Linked DNA regions of Homo sapiens: region 2 is linked to region 1. Evidence: promoter capture Hi-C in human tissues and cell types (Jung and others, 2019). All regions are on one chromosome and are shown on one strand. Each heading gives the region's core, a stretch centred on a gene start or on the middle of the fragment in contact. The rest is flanking DNA. Distances are from core to core; before and after follow the strand shown. Region 1 holds the start of ZNF736 (zinc finger protein 736). Region 2 holds the start of ZNF273 (zinc finger protein 273).

The links. The method cuts DNA at HindIII sites, captures the fragments that hold promoters and counts their contacts. A contact is called where the count stands out against the background at its distance.
Region 2: a contact is called between a fragment that was not itself captured here and the fragment with the promoter of ZNF736 in region 1, in 1 of the 25 tissues and cell types used here (lymphoblastoid cells).

What each region holds. Positions count from the first base shown.
Region 1 is chr7:64,311,218-64,318,417 of GRCh38, reverse strand. ZNF736 (zinc finger protein 736) reads right to left here and starts at 4,457. Exons shown (of 4, transcript NM_001170905.3): 1 at 4,265-4,457. The coding sequence starts at 4,267. RefSeq lists an enhancer at 4,225-4,404. The HindIII fragment of the contact is 17,485 bases long and covers 2,207-7,200 here.
Region 2 is chr7:64,902,861-64,910,060 of GRCh38, reverse strand. It overlaps ZNF273 (zinc finger protein 273), which reads right to left and starts at 6,788. Exons shown (of 4, transcript NM_021148.3): 1 at 6,642-6,788. The coding sequence starts at 6,743. RefSeq lists enhancers at 6,534-6,643, 6,674-6,733, 6,048-6,920, 7,134-7,183, 6,921-7,200. The HindIII fragment of the contact is 5,308 bases long and covers 1,220-6,527 here.

The DNA of each region.
Region 1 (7,200 bases), core at 3,208-5,707:
AAAGTTTATAAACTTACAATACTGATTGTTTTGTAATGTGTTTAATTTAAATAGTTTCTCAAATCTTTATGGAAACTACACTCGTAGACTGTTGCTAAGCTACATTAAATGATGGCTATTCATTAAACATCTAAATTATCTCCAAGTAAGACAAAATGCTAAGATATTAATTTTTAAATACAAGTTTAAGCTAAATATTTTTGGTTTCTTCACAGAAACCAAAGATATTTAGATCTGTTAGTATGCCCTATTCCACATTAAAAATGTTTCCATTTAAAATCCTATGTTTCTAAAAATTAGAAAATATATCTTTATAAAATTTTAGTTCATGACTAATAGTTAAAATTGCTTACTTCTCAGGCTTTCACTATAAATTAAGATTATTAAAAATTAAAATTCTGCCCAAGATTCGTAACTAAAACTATTGTTAAGGAGAGAAACAACTTTACATACACAGTACAAAGAAAATGTGTTTCTTGATGAAAAAAAAATATTTTAGAAACAGATGTGAGAATGTGGTTTTTCTTAAAGAAACGGCAATTTTGCTGAGTTTAGAGGTTATTTAAAAAATACATAAAATTGAGAGAAAAAAGATAAAGAAAATGAGGTAAACTTAATGGATATAGAAAGCTGGAGAAAGAGAAAAATAAAATTTTAAGGGGTTATAAAAGGTTTACAGAAATCTTGTATGGTCAAAGCTGATTGAGATTGAATACATCTGTTTATAATGCTTTCCTAAGGTTAGCTTTAATATTAATAATATAAAAATAAAATTTGATTTTCTACTTTTATGAAGAAGATTTACTCCAAATTTGTTGGAAGGAACCATATTAGATTTTCTTGGCCAGTACCTGTGCCACTAAATTGAAGGGTAATGTCTTTTAAAATATCTGGTCACTGCTCTCTCTACATAGCTCTGAAAAAACCCAGTACTGGACAAATTCTCTCTAACTTTTCCACAGGCATGGCCACCAATCTGTTTTAGATTAAGATTCTATTTGAAAAAAATCTGCTAATTATCTGCCTGGCTTTCAAAAAACAGCTTCATTCATTTTATTGGAAAAAAATGTTTTTGCCTTGGTGAGGTGTCACCTCCCATGAACACATGATTAAAAATATTTTTATAAGCTTAGAAAAAATTACTGATAAAACTGTTACATCCATTGCAGCTCAAAAAAAAGCTACTGATTCACTGGCTACGATTATACTAGACAATCATATTGCTTTAGGTTACATATATTACCTGAGCAAAGATATGTATGTATGGTGGGAAATATCTTTTTATTGTGTACACATAAATACTTCCTACAAAGTAGAAATTTTTTAAAAAAATGAGTTGGCCACTGTCACAAATTCTCCACCCTGCACAAGAGAGAAACTGATGTTTTCATGAATGTTTTGTAATTTACGTGTTAATCTACCACACTTTCTTGTAGAAATGTATTTATTTTTCTGCAGGCATCATGAGAGAGACATTTCCTCTGTCTTTTCCCAGGTAGCATTCCCAAAGCTAAGCCCTGGGATTCTGTTTGAAATCATGCTAAATAGAACAGACGCGGAATCTTACTACACTCACTGTGGGAAATATAAAAGGTAAATGAGAATTTTCAACCAATGGAATATAAACTATTTTTTTCTAAAATCTACCTCTTTTCTTTTAGAAAATTTTTTTTTTAATCTTTCAAGCTCTAATGATAAAATCCATTATACAATTAATGAAAAACTGAAGTTGAAATAACTGAACATATATATTGAAGGTGACAAACACAGGGAGAAGTAGTGCTGACTGGAACACAAATGTTTTAGACTCATGTGTCAATCACTTGAGAGATTCTCCCACCCCCATTCTGCTCACTAAAGTACTTGATCATCACTCTCCCAAAAGATACTGCACTTGCCCCCTGTGTGGCAGATGTGTATTTTGCTTTGCAAATTTATACACTCCCTCACTAGAGTGGATCTTTCCTGTACTTTGGGACAGTTATTCTCCTTCACAAGCCTGAGAGAAACCAGAGGGCAAGATGCATTTGTGCCTTTTCCCCTCAATATCAGCACCTGATTGGTTGACCACCAATGTGTCTGCAAGAAATGAAAACTAGGATTGAGGGGAAAAAAATCTTAATGTTAAAGCAGTTAGCTTTTTAGAGGAAGGGTGAATCAGGAAACTGCTCTCAGCACGAGGGCATCCAGCTGCTCCCCTGAGAGGCTCCACCCAATGCCTCAGGCTCTTCTCTGAAAGGAGATGACCCAGGGGCTAATGTTTGCTAGACACTCCAAGAGATATGGTCCTTGTGGGTATCTTGGATCATCCCCAGAAAGCTGTAATACTTGGACCAGGAAAACACAGGAGAGTGACTGAGGACACATCACCCTGCAAAGGATCCAAAGACATTCTGGGAAGGCGCGCGTGCCTAGAGAAGATGAGAGGAGATGCGCAGTGTCAGGTGACTACTCTTTGCTTTTCTGTCCTGTGAAATATGCACAAACAGACTAATATATTAAAAAGAGCCACCCACGGCTCTGTTAAACAAAAATAAACAAAATGCCACATCCGTTTTAAAATTAAATAAAGAACTGATAGTTCATAATGTGATTTGGAGAGGGATAGTTGGCATTTGGGAATGTGGGAAAGAAATTGGAAATTTAGAATTTTATACAGTCCCTAGAACAGTTAGGCTGGGAGAACAGTTTTAGATTTGAGACCCTGCTTGCCAAACATTTGAAAAATGCAGAGAAAACCAACGACCCTGTGGAGCATTAAAATAATTAAATAGCTAGCAATTAGGCTGAAGTGGCCATGGTGCCCTGGGATTCTGCCTAAGGAAACCTAACTACGTCGAAGGAATTTCTGGTAAATTATTAACTTTGAGAAACAACAACAACAACAACAAAACAACTTAGGCTTAACCAACCACAAGCTGCCAATAAAAAGCTCTAATTACATAACCAGGACATTTCCACCGGAGGGCTGCAAATGCAATACGTAACTGTAACCAATCAAATATTGAATCTGGTTTGCTTCCTCATACCTCTTAAAAAAAAAAAACAACCTTTTGTTCCAAGACCCTCCTTTGAGCCCCCAAACAACAAATCATAGCTGGGTGTTCTCTGATTGATAAATTACTGTTTGTGCAAGTAAACTATTTGTATTAATCGCTTCTGGCATTACTATAAATACCTCAGACTGGGTAATTTATAAGAGGATTAATTGGCTCATGGTTCCACAGGCTGCATAGAAAGCATAACACCAGCGTCTGCTTCTGGGGAGGCCCCACCCAGAAAGCTTAAAATCATGGATGAAGGTGAAGCAAGAGCTTGAAAAAGAGGCAAGGTGGGGTGCTGTACACTTCTAAATGATGAACTTCAGGGAACTCACTCACTATTGAGAGGACAATACCAAGAGGAATGGTGCTAAACTATTCGTGAGAAATCCGGGCCCACAATCCTTCCACCAGGCCCCACCTCCAACATGGGGGATTACATTTAAATAGGAGATTTGGGCTGGAAAACACATCCAAATTATATCCTAAAGTTGCCTCAATTTAGGCTAGGGTGGTGGGTCATGCACGTAATCCCGGCACTTTAGGAGGCCCGAGGCGGGCGGATCACCTGAGACCTGAGCTCGGGGAGTTCGAGACCAGCCTGAGCAACATGGCAAAAGCCTGTCTCTACAAAAACAAACAAAACAAAATAGGCGTGGTGGCGCACCCCTCTAGTCCTAGCTACTTGGGGGGCTGGGGTGAGAGGATCATCTGAGCCCAGTAGGTGGAGGCTGCAGTGAACCGAAATGCACTTTAGCCTGGGCAACAGAGTGAGACACTGTCTCAAAAATAAATAAATTTAAAAAAGGGCCATGATTTTATTTTTAAAAGGAGAAAGGAGGGACTAGGGACCCCACGGCCCACTGCTTCTTCCACGGAGGAACTCCAGACCCTAAATGAGAATTCCCGTCTTATGACACTCCCAACACCCCCACACAATCTGGAGGAGGGAGACTCGAGGTTGCGGCACAGAGCTGCCCAGGAAGGGATCTGAGCTGGGGAGAAATTCGAGTTTAGGGACAAAACAAGACGTAGCGTTTTGGCTGCTGGCTCAGCCCCTAATCTGCGATGGAGGGAAATGAGGATTGAGCTGTGCCCGCGGGGACTCGGGGATGCAGACTCCAGAGCAGACCGCGAGAAGGCCCAGATACCACCGCAGCCGGTTCCGGCCGGATTCAAACAGCCTCTTCCCCATTCTCGGGACACCCACTCCACGCACTCACCATTTCCCAGCCTCCAGATGTTCCGCCGTCCTCCCTATGGATCTCCCAGTACCTGCAGGTCACAGGATAACAGAAGCTATAGTAGAGTCACCGAGGAACTCCAGGAACGGAGGAGATGGAACAGTGGAGACGCGAACTAGGATCAGAGCCCGGAAGCTAGGAGACAAAGGCCCCGCCATATTGAAGAGGCCGCCTCTTCCTCTGTAGCTGCGCACTTGATTGGACAGTTTCACGCTGGCGCCACTGATTGGCTAGGGCTCCAGGCCCCACCCGTTTCAATCCTAAGTGACAGAAGATGTAATCAGACACTGGGCTGAATGAGGCAAGGGTGACAGGTTTTTGCCTGCAGCGTTTTCAGGCGAGTCCTCCCTGTGCTGGGGGCCTGGCCCTGCCTGAGAGACATTTGTATTTAACCTTGCATATAAGATTATATCACTTTCTGATTATATTTTCGTGTGTGTGTATATATTACATTCTGAATTATAGTTATGTGTATGCTGCAGGCCCTGTCTCAGCATCCTGTCTTTCCCTTTAGCTGCAGGAGATCAAAGTCCTCCAGGAGATGCAGCTGCTTCAGCTGGCTGTAGACAATTATCACCTTCAGTCTGTGAAGCAATTTTGGGTCTGCTTCCAATTAATGGAGTGTCTCAGTGAGACTGAGAGGTGAGGGCCTAGCAGATTGGTTAGAGGTGCCACTCGCCCAGGCCTCCCAAAACACCCTGTCTCTTTCCCACCAAAGCTGAGCCTGCCTGAGGACCTAAACAAGCATGGAGAACCAAGATGGGACCCTAGTCAGGGATAGTGCTGGGCTGTGGGGTAAAGTCAGCTAGGTCAGGGCCTCCAGGTGTGGGGAGGAGCCGGCCTCTTCTGTAGAGCCCTGGGCAAGTCACTGCCCTCTTTGGGCCTCTGTTTTCTTATCTAAAAAATGTAGGGATGATGAGCCTCACAGGGTAATGAGGAGCTTCAAAGGAGAAAAATTTGAGAGTGCTTGTGCCTGGCTCTTCCTGAGAGAGATGATGATGAGAACAATGGTGACGGCTACATATAACTGAGTCCTCACGAGGCCCAGTGAGGTAGGTGTGGTTCCCATCACACTTTCAAGTTGAGAAACAGTCTCAGGGAGGCCTGGCTGCATGCCCAAGGTTCCACACACAGTGAGTGTTGCAGCAGGGAGTGAATCTAGAATCAGAGTTTACTGGAGGTGGCAGGAGCACTGGACCAGCTTGACTCACACCAGTTATCCAGGGTACCAGGTCAATGTAACTGGGCATAACTGGGTGAAGGGAGCATAATATCACTGACCTTGTCCTTGACCCTGGCAGAGGAAGACACCCAAGTTGGCCACCCTAGAGAAGAAACCACAGAAAGCCCAGATGAGGCTAAAGCAGCAAAAAGGCAGGTACCTGTGATGGGGAAGAGCTCCAGGGATTCAGAGGGAAGAGCTCCTCCCTCCCAGCTGGAGGCCTCCACATCAAAAGAGCAAGGGGCCTTTCTCCCTCAGCCCTTCCCTCCTGTGGCAACAGTCCCTGAAATGCCTCTATAAGAGAAATCAGAGTAAAGGCCTGGAAGAGCTGGGCTGAGTGGATTTGGGAAACGGTGGAGCTAGGGACCACATAACATTGTGACTTGTTAAAATCTCACCACAGAGTTAATAAGGGAGTGCTTCATGTTTTTGGAGGCCAGCTAGGAAGAGGGGAGAGAGTTGGAGAGAGGCAGCTGCGTGTCTTTGGCTTTTTCAAGTAAAAGATGTGGATAGGAGAGTCCAGGAGATGGGGGCTTATGAGATTTCAGGGACAGGCCTTGAATGGACACCCAAAAGTGGATACTCATCCCCATCACCACCTGATAGCACAGGGTGTTGCTGACTTTCACCTCCCCACTCTCTCCCAATGTTGCCCCAGCTGCTCACCTTCCTTTTCTTTCTGGGTGTTACATTTCCCTAGAAGTCAGCCAATGGTCATCAGAAAGGCCCCTTGGACCCTGACTAGGTCCCCTCCCCACACTCTTCATACTGCATTACTGCCAGGGCCACCAGGGGCAGGGGATGTGCACAAAGCAGGACTTGGGTCTGCAGCAGGTTCTGGGGTTCAAAGGGGACAATGGGAGCTGAGGCTCAGGGACCTCCCACCCCAACTCTCTTTGATGACAGACATAAAAACTGAGGGCTCCCATTTAAAAAAGTGCTCAGCCAGGCCAGGCACGGTGGCTCACACCTGTAATCCCAGTACTTTGGGAGGCTGAGGATGGTGGATCACCAGGTCAGGAGTTCAAGACCAGCCTGGCCAAGATGGCAAAACCCCGTCTCTACTAAAAATACAAGAATTAGCTGGGCGTGGTTGTGGGCACCTGTAATCCCAGCTACTAAGGAGGCTGAGGCAGAGAATTGCTTGAACCTGGGAGGCGGAGTTTGCAGTGAGCCAAGATCATGCCACTGCACTCCAGCCTGGGTGACAGAGGAGGCTCCATCTCAAAAAAAACCAAAAAACAAAAAACAAAAGTGCTCAGCCACATACGAGCTGCCTGCCCTTGGAGAGGCCTAAGTTTACTATCCTTCCATTGGCACCATCTGAGGGAGAGTCTGAGTCCAGCTCAGGCAAAACCTCACTGGGCTTTGCAAGCAGACAGCTCTGCAGCTTCATCACTCAGGGAACAGGGACTGGTGGCTGGTGTGGAATCTTCAACATTCATAGGGAAGAGGGGCCTGATACCTCAGCTCACAGAGGCAGCCGTGACGCTCTCATGAGAGGAAGTTTGCCAAGTGCTGAGATCTAAGGGTGTAGTCCTGATTCTCTTCTCCCAAGCCTCAGGATTCTGGTTCCAGCCCTGCCCATCCCAGGCTCACTCCCATCCATATAATCCTTTCTGGCAGGGTTTCCCATCACCAGATAACTGGAAAATGTGTCCAGGATGGAGGCAACACCCTGTGCTGTCGGGTG
Region 2 (7,200 bases), core at 2,624-5,123, 590 kb before region 1:
TTAATAAAGAACTTAAGCAAGTTTGCCAGAAAAAAAAAACTAGGAAAAAAGCATGAACAGATGTTCTTCAAGAGAAGACACACATGTGGCTAACAAGCATATTAAAAAATGCTCATTATTAATCATTAGAGAAACGTAAAGAAAAACCACAGTGAGATACAATCTCATACCAGTCAGAATGGCTATTAATAAAAAGACAAAAACAAACAAACAAACAAAAAAAAACGATGCTTGCAAGGCTGCAAAAAAAAAAGAATACTTATACACTGTTAGTGGGAGTATAAATTAGTTCAACCACTGTGAAAGCAGTGTGATGATTTCTCAAAGAACTAAAATCAAAATTACCATTTGATTCAGCAACCTGAATACCCCAAAAATACTCTATATACCCCCCAAAATATAAATTATTCTATTATAAAGACACATGCAAATGCATGTTCATTGCAGCACTATACACAATAGTACTTGTGAGCAAAGACATGGAAGCAACCTAAATGTCTATCAATAGTAGACCGGATAAAGAAAACATTATGGCTGGGCGCGGTGGCTCACACCTATAATCCCAGCACTTTGGGGGGCCAAGGTAGGCAGATCACTTGAGGTCAGGAGTTGGAGACCAGCCTGGACACCATGTTGAAACCCCGTCTCTACTAAAAAATACAAAACAAATTAGCCAGGCATGGTGGTGCATGCCTGTAATCCCAGCTGCTTGGGAGGCTGAGGCAGGAGAGTCGCTCGAGCCTGGGTGGTGGAGGCTGCAGTGAGCCAATATCGTGCCACTGCACTCCAGTCTGGGCGACAGAGGGAGACTGTCTCAGAAAAAAAAAAAAAGAAGAAAACATATTGTTGGGTGCAGTGGCTCACGCCTGTAATCGCAGCACATTGGGAGGCCAAGGCAGTTGGATTGCCTGAGCTCAGCAGTTTGAAACTAGCCTGGGACAACATGGCAAAACCCCGTACGTACAAAAAATACAAAAAGAAAAACTAGCTAGGTGTGGTGGCATATGCCTGTAGTCCCAGCTACTTTGGGGGCTGAGGTAGGAGGATTGCTTAAGCCCAGGATGTTGAGGCTGCAGTCAGCCAAGATCACCCCACTGTACTCCAGCCTGGGCAATAGAATATCCTGTCTCCAAAATAAAACAAAATATTTAATAAAAACAAAATATGATATATAAACATCATGAAATACTGTGTGGCCCTAAAAAAATAATAATAAGGTTATGTCCTCTGCAGCAACATGGTTGGAGCTGGAGACCATCATCTTTAGTGAACTAATGCAGAAATGGAAAACCAAATACATGTTCTCATTTATAAGTAAGTGCTAAATAATAACACATGGCACCCTGGGAGGCAGAGCCCAGCAGATCAGTTGAGGTCAGGAGTTTGAGACCAGCCTGGTTAACATGGTGAAACCCTGTCACTATTTTTAAAAATAAATAAATTAGCCAAGCGTGGTGACAGGTGCTTGTAATTTCAGCTACTCAGGAGGCTGAGGCAGGAGAATCACTTGAACCTGGCAGGCAGAGGTTGCAGTGAGATCATGCCACTGCACTGTAGCCTGAGTAACAGAGCAAGACTCCATCTCAAAACAAACAAACAAAAACACATGGACTCAAAGCGGGGAACAACAAACACAGAGGCCAAGTTGAGGGTGGAGGGTGAGAGGACAAAGAGGATCAGAAAAAGTACCTATTTGGTGCTATGCTTACTACCTCAGTGACAAAATAATCTGCACACCAAAGCCTCACAACACAATTTTATGTATATAACAAATCAGCACGTGTACCACGAACCAAATATAAAAGTTAAAAGGAAAAAAAATCCATGAGTGGAGAATAGTGCAATGTAAGTGGATGGATTTGTTTGTGCTATCAGATAGTGGCCCAGGGGGGCTGTACTCTGATTTGTGTCCATGCAGGCAGATGAGATTATGAACAGGTTGGTAGAGGAAGCAGGTTGCTACTGCAGATTCAGTGTCTGGGGGTGGGGATATCCCCAGAGACATGTAGACACTTTTGTGGATTTTTGGCAAAAAATACCAGGATCAAAAATGTTGTGGTGAAATTCCTGAGGGTGGTTCCTAGTCCTGGGAGGGGTGTGGACACATCAATGTCTAGTGCGTATGTTTGAGAGTGGGTGGGAATCCTGTGGTGGCAGCTGTGGAAAAAAGGGGTCTGTTATCACAGCTCATTTCCTCTAAGTTGTCAGTTCTCGCTCACCCTGGGAGGAGACATGGAATCACAGGACAACGGGCAGTGTGACAGTCTGTGTACAGGAGAGCAGAGCCTCCCATTCCCAGACACCCAGAGTTCCATTCCAGGCCAGGCTTCTGTGATATCTTTCCTCTGGTACCAAATCTCTAGAGTTTGTGGAATACCAAGCAATTCTCTAACACCAACTAATTGTCTAACATTTGAATTCTGACACCACCCAGGGTCAGCACAGACCCTGATTCAGGGCTCAGTCCCACAACACTATCCTCACTGCAGATGCCAGTCACAAATTCCATAGGCCCATCTATACACTGGGGTTACTGTTTAAAAATTTGGGACTCCCATAACCTCCCTCAAGTTCAATAATTTGATAGAGCTACTCACAGAACTCAGCAAACACTGTAGTTATGTTGACCAGTTTATTATAAAAGACACAACGCAGGAAAACTCAAATGGAAGAAATGTATAGGACCAAGAAAAGAGGTGGGGAAAGATGAAGCACATAGATAATCCTGGTAAATAGCTGTGATTAATAAAATTATCCATCCTTTGTGCTCTCCAGGAACAGTTGATGGAAAGAAACACCCTCCCATTATGACTTAGATGGTGCTCTTTTCTTACCTATCACATAACCAAACACAGACTCCACATTTCCTTTTCTCATTAAAAACAAACAACAAACAAACAAAAAACAGCTGAACTGGTCTCAGTGGCTAAGAGGAAATATTTCTTAATCAAACTTTACTTAAGTTTATCTTCTTCCCACAGGCTCAGAATTTTGAGCTACCCTCAGTCTGAACCAACATACACCATTTTATGTCCCAGCTAAGAACATGCTGACTTCAGGGTAAAACATTCTCTGATATAAAATCTAATTTTCCCACCTTCTATTTGCCATCCCCTCCCACCTTCTTTCTAATCTTGTCTGCCTAAACTTTGCAGTCCTTCAAGATCTTATAGTTGGTACTTTGCCTGTTGCAACACTCTTTTGGAATTCAAATTTTTTTTTTTACATAACTTTGTTTTATTTTGTAAGTCTAGAAACTGCCTTAAAACAGTAACAACTTCATCTCCAGTAAGACCTTCCTAATCCCCTTCCATCTTAACTTTAACTGCATCTGCCTGTGGGTCCCCAGCTTTCCTGGGCTCTGTAGCTTCTCTCAGTATAAAGGCTTCTTCATGGCTGGTGTGAGCAGGCTGGGACATCTGCAGGGGAGGCTCCCCAAAAAGAACCTAACTGGGCCTTTAATAACCTCCTTTTGCAGGCTCCATATTAGCCTTAGCTTAGAGTCACTGGGCTGAAGCTTTAATTTCCATGTCAGAGGTATTAACTTGGTTTTTGAAAGTAAGTGTTTAAAAAATCCAGCAAAATTACTCAAACACAGTGATCATATAAGGGGAAGACATTTTAAGGTGTTTACATTTTATACCTCAACAAGAAAAGCAAAAGTATCCATTCCTTTTAGATGATAAACGTATTATTTTATAATTTTTATTAAAAATCATGTAGTAAACAGTCATATGGGAACGCTTCTGGGAGGTACCAAGTTTTACCATATAATTCAGCATTAAACTCAGAAATCAAGATAACAGGACATAGACTAGAGATATTCACTGTTACAAATGTACTCTGCATAAAGAGGAACTGATGTTTTCACAAATCTAAGTAACTCACCAATTATCTACTACATATTCTTGTGGAAAAGTATTTATTTTCTACAGCCAAAATTAAAAAGAGATTCTCCCTATTTTTTTCCTTGGTTAGCATTCTAAAAGCCAAGACTTGGAATTCTGTTTGATCTCACCCATAAAAGACACACCCGAGAAAATTCTTAAACTCATTCTGGCAAAGAAAAAGATAAATGAGAATTTTTAACAAATGGACTATATAATTAGATATTATTTCTCTCCCTGAAACCCACCTTTTTGTAAATTTTTTACCTTTCAAGTTTTACTAATAAAATGCAACTTACAATAAAAAACTGAAGTCAAAAAAAGTGAAGAAATCTTTTCAAGATGATAAACCCCCAGAGAGTGGCAGTGCTGATTAGAAAACTGATGTGTTTGACTCGTGTCAAGTCAGGCCACGATCCCTTGATTCTCCCACCCCATCCTGCTCACTTAAGTGCTCAACGACCACCCTCTTCGGAGACACTATACCTCAGTTACTGCTCCAGATGCATTTTAGTTTGCAAGTTCTTGCACCATCTCACTGGAGTAAGTTTTTTTTAGTTTTTTTGGTACACTATTTTTTCTTTCACAAATGTTAAGAGAATTCAGGGGGAAGAAATTATTTGTTTTCCCCTTAATACCAGCATCTGATTGGCTGACCAGCAATCTGTCTCCAAGAAATGAAAGCTGGATTGGGTGAAGACAATCTTAATGTCTCAACGGGTTAGCTTTTCAAAAAAAAAAAAAAAAAAAAAAGTGTGGCCAGCGTGGGGTGCCTCACGCCTGTAATCTCAGCACTCTGGGACGCCAAGGTGGGCGGATCACTTGAGGCCAGGAGTTCAAGGCCAGTACAGCCAACATGGTGAAACCTCCTCTCTACAAAAAACACAAAAATTAGCCAGGTGTGTCGGCGTGCACTTGTAATCCCAGCTACTTGGTAGGCTGAGACTGGAGAATCGCTTGAACCTGGGAGGCGGAGTTTGCAGTGAGCCACGATCGCCCCATTGCACTCCAGCCTGGGCGACAGAATGAGACTGTCTCAAAAAAAAAAAAAAAAAAAAAAAAAAGTGCACCAGGAGATGCCTCTCAGCCCCACGACATCCACCTGCTCTTTTAAGAAGCTACACTCCATACCTGAGACTGTCCTATGGGAGAAAATGACCCAGGAGCTGATATTCACTAAACATTGTAGCAGACATAGCGATTGTGGGTATCTTGGTTTATCCCCAGACAGTACTAAAACTCAAAACCAGGAAAACACTGAGGAGTGGCTGAGGAAACAGCACTCCATAAAGTTTCCAAAGGGAAACCTTGACCCAAAAACATTTTGGTAAGATCTCTGTGCCTAGGGAAGATTATTTTAAAAAGAGGCACAGAGATTTTTTTACAATACAGTGTCAGGGGATGATTCTTTGCTTTCTTCTCCTGGGAAATATTTTCAAACAGAAAAAAATTTTTCTAAAGTGCTATCCAATGCTGTGTCAAAAAATGATTAATTAAAATACAGTATCTAAAATGTACACTAAAATAATGTGAATTAGGATGAGGAAGTTGGCATTTCGGAATGTCAGAAAAAACTGGAAATTTGGTATTTTACTGCAAGCCAGAGTTAGGCTGAAGGAATTGGGGGTGGGGAGTAGTCTTGAGACTCTGCTTGGGCCACATGTGAAAATTTCAGGGGAAAATCTATCCCCTGTAGAGTGTGTACACAATTAAGTAGCAGGCAATTAGACTGAGGTAGCTCCAGTCCCAGGGTCCCCATTTTTTAAAAAAATCTAACTCAAATTGGCCGGGCGCGGTGGCTCACGCCTGTAGTCCTAGCACTTTGGGAGGCGGAGGCGGGTGGATTGCCTGAGCTCAGGAGTTCGAGACCAGGCTGGGCAACACAGTGAAACCCAGACTCTACTAAAATACAGAAAAGTTAGCTGGGCGTGGCGGCGTGCGCCTGTAATCCCAGTTACTTGGGAGGCTGAAGCAGGAGAATTGCATGAACCCGGGAGGCGTTGGTTGCAGTGAGCCGAGATGGCTGCCATTGCACTCCAGCCTGAGCGACAGTGTGAGACTCTGTCTCAGAAAGAAAGAAAAAAAAATCTAACTCAAACTTTTTGTAAATTACAACATTGAGGGAAACAAAATTCAGGCTTAACCAACCATAAACTGCCAATTAACCTCTGATGACATAACCAGGAAATGTCCACCCTGAATTTACAAATTAAGAAACTACATAACGGTACCTAACCAATTATTGGCTTTCTTCATCACACACCTTATAAAAGTCTTTCCTTCAAGCCCTTCCCATGGACCACAAACTACAAACCACAGCTGGGTGCTCTATAATTTGTGAATGACTGTCTGATTAAATTCTTTAATATTTTCGCGGTGACTTCCATACATTTTTAATAGAAAAAAGGAGGGTCTGGGAACCCCATGGACCAAAGCTCTTCCTAGTCATGAACCCTGCATCCCGAGTCATCGAGGAGAGATGCGGCGCTGCGGCAGCAGAGCTGCCCAGGGAGGGCTCCAGGCCAGGGAACGGTCACTGCGCAGGGAGGAGACAGGACGCCCGGGATCCCGGCTGCCAGCCCAGCAGCCATCTTATGACTGAAGGGGACTGAGGGCCGAGCTGCGCCAAGGAGAACTCCTGGCCGCGGATTTTGGAGTCTACTGCAGGGAGGCCGGAGTCTCGCCACATCCACTTCCCACCAGTTCCAACCAGGCCCTCCCCCTCTCTCGGGATCTGGGACCCGGCACTCTCACCATTTCTAGGCTTCCAGGGAGTCCTGGCGTCTTAGCTGTGGATCTCCCAATACCTGCAGGTAACGGGGCCACAGAAGGTGGACCTCTAGGAGCAGAGGACATAGAGCAGTGAAGACGAGACCTGGAGCTGCGACTGCAGCGAGAGACAAAGGCCCCGCCAAATCCCGGAAGCCGTCCTGTCCGCTCCAGCTGCGTGCCTGATTGGACGGGTCCCAGCCCAGCGTCCCTGATTGGAGGATGTTTAAGGACCCGCCCCCTCAGGCCCTGAATGACAGAAGGTGTGCTCAGTTGCTGGGCTGAAAGAAGATAGAATGAAACCTAAACTGCAGGCTTTTCAGTCAGGGCTTCCTCCCTGAACTGAGCCCGGCCCACCCACGGGGTATTTGCATTTAACCTTGTGTATAAGGTCATATGCATTTATATTAATAAATAGTATAGTGTGTGAAAGGAAAATAAATTTTGCGGCCCCAAAATCACTAAGCTATAGGGAAAAGTCAAGCTGGGAACTGCTTAGGGCAAACCTGCCTTCCATTCTATTCAAAGTCACCCCTCTGCTCAC